Regions from separate parts of the Homo sapiens genome. Here regions 1 and 2 are each linked to region 3. The links are contacts of gene promoters, found by promoter capture Hi-C in human tissues and cell types (Jung and others, 2019). All regions are on one chromosome and are shown on one strand. The core of a region is centred on a gene start or on the middle of the fragment in contact, and the rest is flanking DNA. Distances in the headings are between cores, read along the strand shown.

What was found. The method cuts DNA at HindIII sites, captures the fragments that hold promoters and counts their contacts. A contact is called where the count stands out against the background at its distance.
Region 1: a fragment that was not itself captured here is called in contact with the fragment with the promoter of SUMO3 in region 3 in 1 of the 25 tissues and cell types used here (lymphoblastoid cells).
Region 2: a contact is called between the fragment with the promoter of LRRC3 here and the fragment with the promoter of SUMO3 in region 3, in 1 of the 25 tissues and cell types used here (spleen).

The regions. Positions count from the first base shown.
Region 1 is chr21:44,389,597-44,392,943 of GRCh38, forward strand. TRPM2 (transient receptor potential cation channel subfamily M member 2) reads left to right here. Exons shown (of 32, transcript NM_003307.4): 10 at 1,308-1,429; 11 at 1,676-2,029. Among named protein-coding and RNA genes, the nearest start is that of TRPM2-AS, 34 kb to the right of the region's middle. The HindIII fragment of the contact is 4,893 bases long and covers 1-3,347 here.
Region 2 is chr21:44,453,725-44,457,253 of GRCh38, forward strand. It overlaps LRRC3 (leucine rich repeat containing 3), which reads left to right and starts at 1,786. Exons shown (of 2, transcript NM_030891.6): 1 at 1,786-1,931; 2 at 2,774-3,529. The coding sequence starts at 2,921. LRRC3-DT (LRRC3 divergent transcript) reads right to left here and starts at 1,560. Exons shown (of 4, transcript NR_047476.1): 1 at 1,520-1,560; 2 at 1,253-1,328. RefSeq lists an enhancer at 783-1,283 and silencers at 1,447-1,626, 1,715-2,144. The HindIII fragment of the contact is 13,764 bases long and covers 1-3,529 here.
Region 3 is chr21:44,816,237-44,819,963 of GRCh38, forward strand. It overlaps SUMO3 (small ubiquitin like modifier 3), which reads right to left and starts at 1,826. Exons shown (of 4, transcript NM_006936.3): 1 at 1,712-1,826. The coding sequence starts at 1,732. RefSeq lists silencers at 1,358-1,557, 1,738-2,317, 2,338-2,437. The HindIII fragment of the contact is 28,474 bases long and covers 1-3,727 here.

The sequences.
Region 1 (3,347 bases), core at 301-2,800, 430 kb before region 3:
AGTGACATCTCATTGTGGTTTGAATTTACATTTTCCTGAGGACTACTGATGTGGAGCATCATTTTAAGGACTTTTTGGCCATTTGCCTGTCTTCCTTCTGAAATGTCTTTCAGATCTCTTGTCCATTTTTATTTGATTGTTTGTCTTCCAGTTTTCGATTTGTAAGAGTTATTTATATATTCGGATACAAATCGTTCGTCAGATATTATTTTCTCATGGTGTGTAGTTTCCTTTCATATTTTCTTCAAGATGTCTTTGAAGAGCAGGAGGCTTAAAATTTTTTTTTTTTTTTTTGAGATGGAGTCTCGCTCTGTTGCCCAGGCTGGAGTGCAGTGGCGCGATCTCGGATCATTGCAAGTTCCGCCTCCTGGGTTCACACCATTCTCCAGCTTCAGCCTCCCAAGTAGCTGGGACTACAGGTGTCCACCACCACGCCTGGCTAATTTTTTGTATTTTTAGTAAAGACAGGGTTTCGCCGTGTTAGCCAGGATGGTCTCGATCTCCTGACCTCATGATCCACCCGCCTTGGCCTCCCAAAATGCGGGATTACAGGTGTGAGCCACCTCGCCCAGCCAATTTAATCAATTTTTCTTTATGGTTCATGTTCTTTGTGTCATAGCTAAGAGATCTCTGCCCATCCCAAGGTTGCAGATATTTTCTTCTGTTTTCTGACGGCAGTTTTGTAGACATAGCCTTTATGTTTGGGCCTAAGAACCGCTCCATGTTGATTCTTGTGTATGGTGTGAGGTAAGGGTCAAAGTTCTTTTTTCTTTTTCCCCAAATAACAACCCATGTTTTAAAAAGTTAAACCAGAAAGGGAACACAGAAACTACTTGAGCAAAATAACTTGTCCTGAGAACCAGTGAGGTGGTTGTTACTGTTGAACATTTACAGGCAGTTGAGGCAGGAAAGGAAATGTGATGGCTTCTGAGTCCTGAGTTTTGGATGTTAGTGTAAGATGCCTGCCCTCCAGAGACCTATGTCTTCTTAAAACAGTGAGGCCCTTTTCTTGCTTACTGCCCACCTGTCGCTTAGGGGCCAGGGCATGGCCAGGAGGAGGGCAGGGGAAACAGGAGTGAGTGGACGTGATGACCAAAGCCCCAAGATTCACTGATTCTGACTCCGAAATGGAACATGCTTTTGCAAGGCTGTGTGTATGGGAGGAGGTCACTGGGTGCTGCGCCTGTCACTTTGAATTGTTGAGAGGCAAGGGCTCATGACACATCCCTGACTCTGACATCATTTCCCTGGAGGGAAATGGCTTTGAGCTCCAGATCGAGGCCCAATATGCACCTGTTCATCTGCAGCCTCACGGAGCCAAGACCACTTTGGCCACGAGAACTGGGACCACCAGCTGAAACTGGCAGTGGCATGGAATCGCGTGGACATTGCCCGCAGTGAGATCTTCATGGATGAGTGGCAGTGGAAGGTAAGTCTTCCAGAGCACCCCGTGGAGGGGCCTACTGGGCCCACATGCATTGCACCACTGAAGCAAGGGCAGGCAAAGTTCGCATTGTCTGGATCCCAGCCCTTCCCTTGAGGGTGGGTGACCTGGGCAGCTTTCATCCTCCCCAGGTTGGGGACAACAGCAGCCCCCATCTCCAGGGTCTTTGAGATCAGGATGACATGGGGTGATGACCAAATGCAACCGTCACTGCACAATGCTTGCTCTCAGCCTTCAGATCTGCACCCCACGATGACAGCTGCACTCATCTCCAACAAGCCTGAGTTTGTGAAGCTCTTCCTGGAGAACGGGGTGCAGCTGAAGGAGTTTGTCACCTGGGACACCTTGCTCTACCTGTACGAGAACCTGGACCCCTCCTGCCTGTTCCACAGCAAGCTGCAGAAGGTGCTGGTGGAGGATCCCGAGCGCCCGGCTTGCGCGCCCGCGGCGCCCCGCCTGCAGATGCACCACGTGGCCCAGGTGCTGCGGGAGCTGCTGGGGGACTTCACGCAGCCGCTTTATCCCCGGCCCCGGCACAACGACCGGCTGCGGCTCCTGCTGCCCGTTCCCCACGTCAAGCTCAACGTGCGTGCTGGTAACGGGGCCCATCCTGGACTCGTCTTCGCGGGCTACTGCTATGTTCTTAGAGCTCTCTGTTTTTAAAATTAGCTTTTATTTTTATTAGAAAAGACACATGCTCTATCTTAGGCTGCTTGGGCTGCTGTAACAAAATTCCACAGATGGGGCAGAAACTACCAGTTTATTTTCTCGAAGTTCTGGAAGCCCGAAGTCCCAGATTAAGGCACCAGCAGGGCTGGCTTCTGGCCAGGGCCTCTTCTTGCTTGCACGTGGCTGCCCTCTTGCTGTGTCTTCACGTGACAGAGAGAGAAGTCTCTGGTGCCACTTCCTCTTCTTTTTCTTTTATTTATTTTTTATTTTTTTGAGACAGGGTCTCACTCTGTCGTCCAGGCTGGAGTGCAGTGGCGTGATCTTAGCTCACTGCAGCCTCAACCTCCCAGGCTCAAGCAATCCTCCCACCTCAGCCTCCCAAGTAGCTGGGACTACAGGTATGCGCCACCACACCTGGCTAATTTTTTATTTTTTTGTAGAGATGGTTTTGCTATTTTGGACAGGTTGGTCTCAACCTCCTGGCCTCAAGTGATCCGCTCTCCTCACCCTCCAAAAGGCTGGAATTTACACCCTCCAGCCACCGTGCCTTGTCTATTTTTATGTTTGAGACAGGGTCTGGCTCTGTGACCCAGGCTGGAGTGCAGTGGTGCAATCATGGCTCACCGTACCTTCCACCTCCCAGGCTCAAGCAATCCTCCTGCCTCCGTCTCTTGAGTAGCTGGGACTATAGGCATGTGCCACCACACCCAGCTTTTTTTTTTTTTTTATAATATTTTGTTGAGATGGGGTCTCATTATATGGCCCAGGCTGGTCTCAAACTCCGGGGCTCAAGTGATCCTCCTGTCTTGGCCTCCCAAATTGCTGGCATTGCAAGTGTGAGCCTCCGCACCTGGCCTCACCCCTCTTTTTATAAAGAGAACACACCTATCCACTTAGGAACCCACAATGTGGCCTCGTTTAACCTTAATTACCTTCTTAAAGGCCCTATCTCCAAATGCTATAGTCACACTGGGGGTTAGGGCTTCAACATATGAATTTTAGGGGGGACAGAGTTGCGTCCATAACATACCCTTTCTAAAAGTTCCAAACAGTACAAAAGGTTCTGCAGGGAGCGTGATCCCCCTGCCCTGAGCCCCACTGCTGCCCACTGTGTATGCTGGTTTTTTCCGACAGTCAGGTCAGTAACATTCCACCGTATTTTTGTGAGATGCCCAGGGTGCACTGCAGCTGTGGGAGAGTGGATGCTGTAGTCTGCACCCTGTGATTCAATGGG
Region 2 (3,529 bases), core at 536-3,035, 360 kb before region 3:
CTGATTATCCACATACACAAAAAATAAACATTGAATCATATCTCATACTATAAACCCAAATAAACTTAAAATAGGTAATAGACCCAAATGCAAACCTTTAAAACTCTAAAACCCTTGTGACTTTGGGTGAGGCAAAGATTTCTTATATATGACACCAAAAGCAGGATCCATAAAAGAAAAACATAAATTGGATTTCCTCAAAATTAAAAAATTCTGCTCTTTGAAAAACTGTTAAGAGAATGAACACACAATCCAAAGGCTTGGAGAAAGCATTTACAGATCACATATCTGATAAAGGACTTGTATCCAGAATATGCAACAAACTCCCAAACTCAATAATAAGAAAATAAACAACCCAATTAAAAGTGAGTAAAAGATTTGAACTCAACGCTTACTACAGGAGATGGAGAATAAACAGATGAAATGATGCTCAACATCATTGGCCAACAGGGAAACGCAAATTAAAACCACAGTTCCATCTATCACCACACACCTATTAGAGTATTTGAAATTAAAAAGACAAACCATACCAAGTGCTGGGGAGGATGTGGAATGTAAAACCATACAATCGCTTTGGCAGTTTCTTAAAAAGTTTCACATATGGCTACCGTGGCATCCAGCCACTCCACTCCTAGACATCTATTCAAGAGAAAGAAAAGCATTCATCCAAAGACTTGTGCACAATGTTCGGATCAGCTTTATCTGTAAGAGCCAACACCAGAAACAACCCAAATGCCCACCAGCAGGTGAATGGACACAAACTGTGGTACATTCATACACTGGAGTACCATGCAGCTGTAAAAGAAATACGCATTGACAAACCAAATGACGCAGGCAAATCTCAAAAATAATTGTGCTGAGTGAAAGAAGCTACACAAAAAGTACATATTATATGATTCCATTTGTGCAAATCATAGGAAATGCAAAGTAATCAGTAGTGACAGAATGCAGATCAGTGCTTGCCTGGGGATGAGGGAGGGCAGGGAGAGATGACCAAGAGGGAACCCGGGGTGTTCACTATGCTGATTGTGGTGATGGTTTCACAGGAGTATCCGAGTGTTAAAACGTACCAAATTGAAATATGTGGCTTACCGTCTGTCAATTACACCACAATAAGGCTACTTTTTGAAAACCATGAGGATGGCTCAGGTCCGGCTCAAATGCCCCCACCCTGCGTTCCTTCCTTGGGATGTCAGACGCTGGAGCTGGAGCAGAAGGGGACCTAGATGGGCGGAGATCTAGCCCTACTCACCCACTGGCCACGGGGTAGGCGAGGGACGCTCAGCAGGGGCTTCCCGCAGACCCAGGGTCTTCAAGCCCCAGAAGTCCTGATGCCAGAGGGAAGAGGGGATTTGCCCAGAGTGAGGGGCAGGGGCTGGACCCACAGCCCCTCCCGGCGCGCAGACCCCGCCCCCACCCATAACCACGCCCTCAGCCCCCACCACCTCGTCCTCAGCCCCACAACCACGCCCCCAGCATGCCACAATTACTCCCACAACCCGCCCACAGCCCCTGCGACCTGGGTCTTAGTACCAGCTCCATCTAAAGCCGCACCACCGGCCCCTCCCATGCCCCTCCCATGCCCCTCCCCCATCTCTTCCAGGCCCCGCCCTGCCGCAGAACCCGCCCTCAAGCCCCGCCCCCGCCTAACCACAAATCCCGTTCCGGTCTCCTTACATGCCCCGCCCCTTCCCCGCCCCCGCGGGGAATCGACACAGCCTGTCTCCGCCTTTCGCCCCGCCCCCTCCAGGCCCCGCCCCACCCCGCCCCTCGCCCGCGCAGGCCGGAGTCGCGGCCTCCCCAGCTAGTGGTCGCGGGCGCGGTCGCAGGGGCAGCGGGGTGGCCGCCGCGCCAGGCGTGGAGCTGGGTCTGGCGGGCTCCGAGAGGCCCGGGAGCGGCGCGCAGAGCAGCCTCCGGCCGCCGCCGCGCAGGTAAAGCCCCCGCCCAGCCCTGGGAGCGTGGATTCCCACCCACCCCATGACCATCCCCCCGCCGCGAGTGCTGGGGTCTCGGGGGTCCCAGGTTCCGGGGGTCCTAGGGCCGGAGGGTCTAAAGGCTGGAGGTCCTGGGGGTCCGAGCCTCTCCCGGCCGGCTCCGCGCGCGGCCCCGCCGTCCACGCCCAGCGCGGGCCGCGCGCACAGGGCTTGGCTTCTCTGTTTTCTCGGTTTCCTTCTTCAGGCAGTTGAAAGAAAAGGCGCGGTTCTGTGCCCGGTGCGAGCCGCGGCTCCTTTAGGGCTGGCAGGGAAGGGCTTGCTGGGTTATGACAGTTTTTAGGGGTTGTCGGAGTCAGCCAGGCGTTGGCTGCTGGAGTAGCCCCTGGCGCGCGAGCGCCCGCTGGTGCCCGGCCACGTGCCCAGCTTGACCCGCGCTCCAGGTTCGGGAGAAGCTGCAGCCGTCACCGTCCTCCTGGCGTCCACCCTGAGGAGGGAGGGGCTGGGTGGTCCAAGCCGCCGCCACTCCGCCGCCCGGCCTTTGGTCCCCAGCGGTGCTGTAGGTGGCCAGGGGTGGCCGCAGTGACCACCCACTGGGCCATGCGGAGCCCCCTGGCAGTGCCAGCTCCCTGCACTTGTGGGACGCTCCTCCCGGGCGCATTGGGAGTCTCCAGAAGTAAGTTACAGGCAGAGCTGTTTAAGGAGGCGTGCTCCCCACCCCAGACCCTTCAGTGGGCCCTCAACACCCTCCCCACCAGTGGACGCGTTTCCCAGGTGACCGCAGCCGGCAGTGCTGACCACCCTCCCTCCCTCTCCGCTCCCTCCTGCGTCTTCCCTTTCAGAGCTGCCAGAGTGGACTGCACTGCTTCTCCCAGCGGGGCAGGATGGCGGTTTCATGTCTGGTTGGATAAGGCCTTGCCTGCGGAAACCAGCTCCATCCCCAGGCCCTAGCAGAGGCTCGCGTGTCCCCGTCCCCAGGTCAGGTCAGGATGGGCACCGTGCGCCCACCTCGCCCCTCGCTCCTGCTGGTCTCCACCCGGGAGTCTTGTCTCTTCCTCCTCTTCTGCCTGCACCTGGGCGCCGCCTGCCCACAGCCCTGCCGGTGCCCTGACCACGCAGGGGCTGTGGCTGTCTTCTGCAGCTTGCGGGGCCTTCAGGAGGTCCCCGAGGACATCCCGGCCAACACCGTGCTCCTGAAGCTCGATGCCAACAAGATCTCCCACCTCCCGGACGGGGCCTTCCAGCACCTGCACCGGCTCAGGGAGCTGGATCTGTCTCACAACGCCATCGAGGCCATCGGCTCCGCCACCTTCGCGGGCCTGGCCGGGGGCCTGCGGCTGCTGGACCTGTCTTACAACCGCATCCAGAGGATCCCCAAGGACGCCCTGGGCAAACTCAGCGCCAAGATACGCCTGTCCCACAACCCCCTGCACTGCGAGTGCGCCCTGCAGGAGGCCCTGTGGGAGCTGAAGCTGGACCCCGACTCTGTGGACGAGATCGCCTGCCACACCTCAGTGCAGGAGGAGTTTGTGGGGAAGCCTCTGGTTCAGGCTCTGGATGCGGGTGCCAGCCTCTGCAGCGTCCCCCACAGGACCACA
Region 3 (3,727 bases), core at 576-3,075:
CTACAAAAACATAAAGGACATTTATATTTGACCTAGTTTTAACAAGTATTTAAATATTCAAACAACCCCAGAGTGGGAGAACTTTGACTTCACTGGAGTCAAAATGTAAAAAGCAAAGGTCACCCCAAATGCCATCTGGATAGGGCAGGTTTCCCTGGAGTCTGACCACAGCAAGCAGAGTGCAGACTTCCATAGAGGCCGCGACCATGGTTCCTGACGGTTCCATCCCACTTCCCGCCAGTGTCTGGCACTGAGCCTCCACCCTCATCTGTAAAGGGAGGGTGGTCACCTCCAGGACCAGGCCAGTATCAGAGACAGCCTCTTTACAGAGCCTTCAGCTCTAGTCATCTTCCACTGGGATGTAACATAGAGGCCGACAGTGCACACCAAGGGCTTCGGAAAGGTTCTCTTTTTATGAACACTGGAGAATGCGACTACAGACCCTCCCGAGAAGGAATGGCCAGTGCACCTGAATGCAGGGTGCATACCCCAGGACTGAGACTGGAGGGAGGCACACCCCAGCATGGCAATGGGGGAGACTAAAGCCCACCCAAGGCTGGATAAGGAGGGGTGGGCGCGCATGGTGGGGGAGGCGCAATGCAGAGAAGTGGGCGCACACCGTGGGGCGTGATAGGGAGGGGTGGGCACACACTATAGGGGGCGTGATGGGGAGGGGTGGGCGCACATCGTGGAGGGGGTGATGGGGAGGGGTGGACGCACACTGGGGGTGTGATGGAAAGGGGGACGCGATGGATAGGGGTGGGCGCACACTGGGGGACGCGACGGGGAGGGGTGAGCACACACTGGGGGTGTGATGGAGAGGGCGACGCAATAGGGAGGGGTGGGCGCACACCAGGGACGCGATGATGGGGACGGGTGGGCGCACACCAGGTGGCATGATGGGGAGGAGTGGGTACACACCATGGGGGGCGTGATGGGGAGGCGTGGGCGTACACCGGGGGGCGCGATGGGGAGGGGTGGGCGCACACCGGGGGACGCGATGGAGGCGGTGGGTGCACACGGGGCGCGATGGGTGGGAGTAGGTGCACACTGAGGGCACGATTGGGGAGACACGAAGGAGAGGGGTGGGCGCACACTGGGGGACGCGATGGCCGGGACACGATGCGGAGAAGTGGGTGAATACCGGGGTCGCGATGGGCGCCCTGGAAGGACGGCAGTGCTGCTCACAGGGGCCAGGCCCCTCAGAGCGCGCCCCTTGGGGGTAACCCCAGACGCTTGTTCCCGAGCCGACTCCGTGCACTCGACACAGGATCCCGCACCCAGGGCGATGCCGGGGGAGAGGGCGACCCCAACCAGCAATGACTCAGGAGAGGAGCACGCAAAGACGCTTCGGGGACACTGCTGGGGCGGGATCCGAGGGCGCCGCGCTCTGCAGGAGCAGCAGCGCGGGGCCCGACACCGGGCGCTCAAGGAGGCGCTGGGCGCGCGCCTTCCCAGCTGGGGAGGAGACGGGCGTGGAGCGGAGGCGTGGCCAGGCCCGGAGGGGGCGGAGCTCGCGGCACAGCGCGCTTCGCGGGGGCAGAGGGGGCGCACCTTGGGCGGGCCCACTTAGGGGCGGGGCTCTAGAGGGCGGGGAGGGGCGGAGCCTGTCAGGGGCGGGACGCGGGGCGGAGTCGGGGTGGGGGCGGAGCCGGGCTGGGGGCGGGACGCCCGCGATAGACGCGCGTGCAGGCGGGGTCGCCGCGCTTACCTTGGGCTTCTCCTCGGACATGGCTGCGCGAGCGGCGCGGGGAGGCGGCGCGGGGGAAGCAGCGCGGAGCGGGCGAGTCACGCTCTCGGCCCCGCCGCTCTCCCGCCGCAACTGTGCGCGGGGCCGCGCTTTATCCCCCAAATCCCGGCGCACCCGTTGGCCGGCACGGGGGTCACGTGGCTGCGCGCGTTCACGAGGCGCGCTCCCCGGGGCGTCGGGCGCGCGCAGGCCGGGCCGCGGCTCTGGGCGGTTGGAGATGCGTCACGGGGCGGGTCCCGCGCGACCCCGTCGGGCGCGGAAGCCCTAGGGCGCTGTGGGGCGCGGGCCAGGAGCGTTTACGGGGAGCCCGGGCCCTGGGGACCCTTGCCCGCCTCCCCGCGTCGCCCGGGCCCCGACTCCTTTCCTGGGGGCCGCGTTCCTGGGGCGCCGGGAAGTGAGGCCGGGGCCGCCGCCCATGGCCGCAGGGACCTGGGGCGGAGGAGGGAGGACGCTGGGGGTGACGTTCCCTCTCAGGAGCCGCGGACAGAGCGGAGAAGGCGGCCCGCGGGGTCCCGTCCGCGGGGGCCGCGCGAATCGGGCCAGCACCCTAGACGATTGGGGGCGCCACCCGCCTCCCTGCCGCCGCGGTTTCCTGTCAGCCCCAGGCCGGGCTCCTTTGGCCAACGCTCCTACGGGGCTGCCCCGGGCCCTCCACACCCGTCCTCAAGAAGACCCGTTTTACCTGTGAAGAAACTGAGGCACTGGGAGGTCAAACCACCCCCAGGTCAGCGCTGGTGAGCGGCGCCGAGCTTGGCCAGGCCGCCACGTCGGCGAGCGCGGGCAAACCCAGGCTGGACGCCGCCAGTGCCGGCGGAACGGGGACCTCGTGGACGCGGGAAACGCGCTGGGCCGGCAGGACGGCCTCCCCGGACTTGCGGGCGCCATTCCTGGGGTGCCTGGCCCGCCCCGGCCTCCATGTCTGTGATCCCAGGGCCTCGGATGGAACGGACCTGAGGGCGGACACCCCTGCGTCCCTCAGGAGTGCCCGGGTGGTGCCAGCCGGGGCGTGGCGGAGGTCTCATCTGATGGTGAGCCCGGCCGAAGGCGGGGGAGGCCGCACTTCAGGCTCAGCTGGGAAATGGCAGGGCCTGGATTTGAACCTAAGCGTCTGAGCCGTTTCTGTCCTGCCTGGGAAAGGCTCAGCCAACTGAGCAACGTCGCAAAGCCATGGAGACAAGTCTTCATGGACCATAACTTCACAAACCGTCTTCTACTCAAAAATTCACTTTCTTGGCTAGAGCCCCCACTTAGGAGGGGGAAGGCTGCTGAAGTCTTTCGGGGAGAGGGTCTGAGAGTCAGCCCCAGTCCCAGGCAGGTCATAAGGTGTGGTCCCTTCCTTCTGGAACCTGGAGCCCAGGGCCTCAGCAGAGGATGTGGAGGTGGGTGGCCAGCTCAGACGGTCCTGGGAGGGGGCTCCGCAACCAGCCCCTTCCGAGGGGACGTGGCGCCTCAGAGCCCACAGATTGCTGGCCCTGGAAGTGCCCTAGGGCAGGCAGGGTTCAGAGAGTTATCGACTCCAAGACACCGTTAATCATAAAACAACACGACCGTAGGTAGCACAGACACACTAAACTCCGGCAGGCTGTGGATGACGGCAGCCCGCTTCAGTGTTGTGGAAGTGAGAAACACGCAGCTTAGAAATCATGAGACACAGAACCCAAATGTGTTACCGCTCGAAATTACGCCAGTTGCTGTGTCACGAAGTGATGCGTGACTACAGTCATGGATAAGGGAAAAAGAGGCTCAGATGACATTAGGTTTTAAAAAGCCAGGCTATAAGACAATGGTGGTCTGAATTCAATTCATGCTGTGTCTGTCTCCCACACTGTGACCTGCCCCGAATCCTTCATGTGACAGCAAAGATGCAAAAAGGCTCTGTCGCAGCTGTGGGGACACAAAGGACACCGCTGGTGGACCGAACGCCAAGAGGTTTCTGAAGGACACAGCCAAAGGGGATCGAATGGACGGAGGAACCAG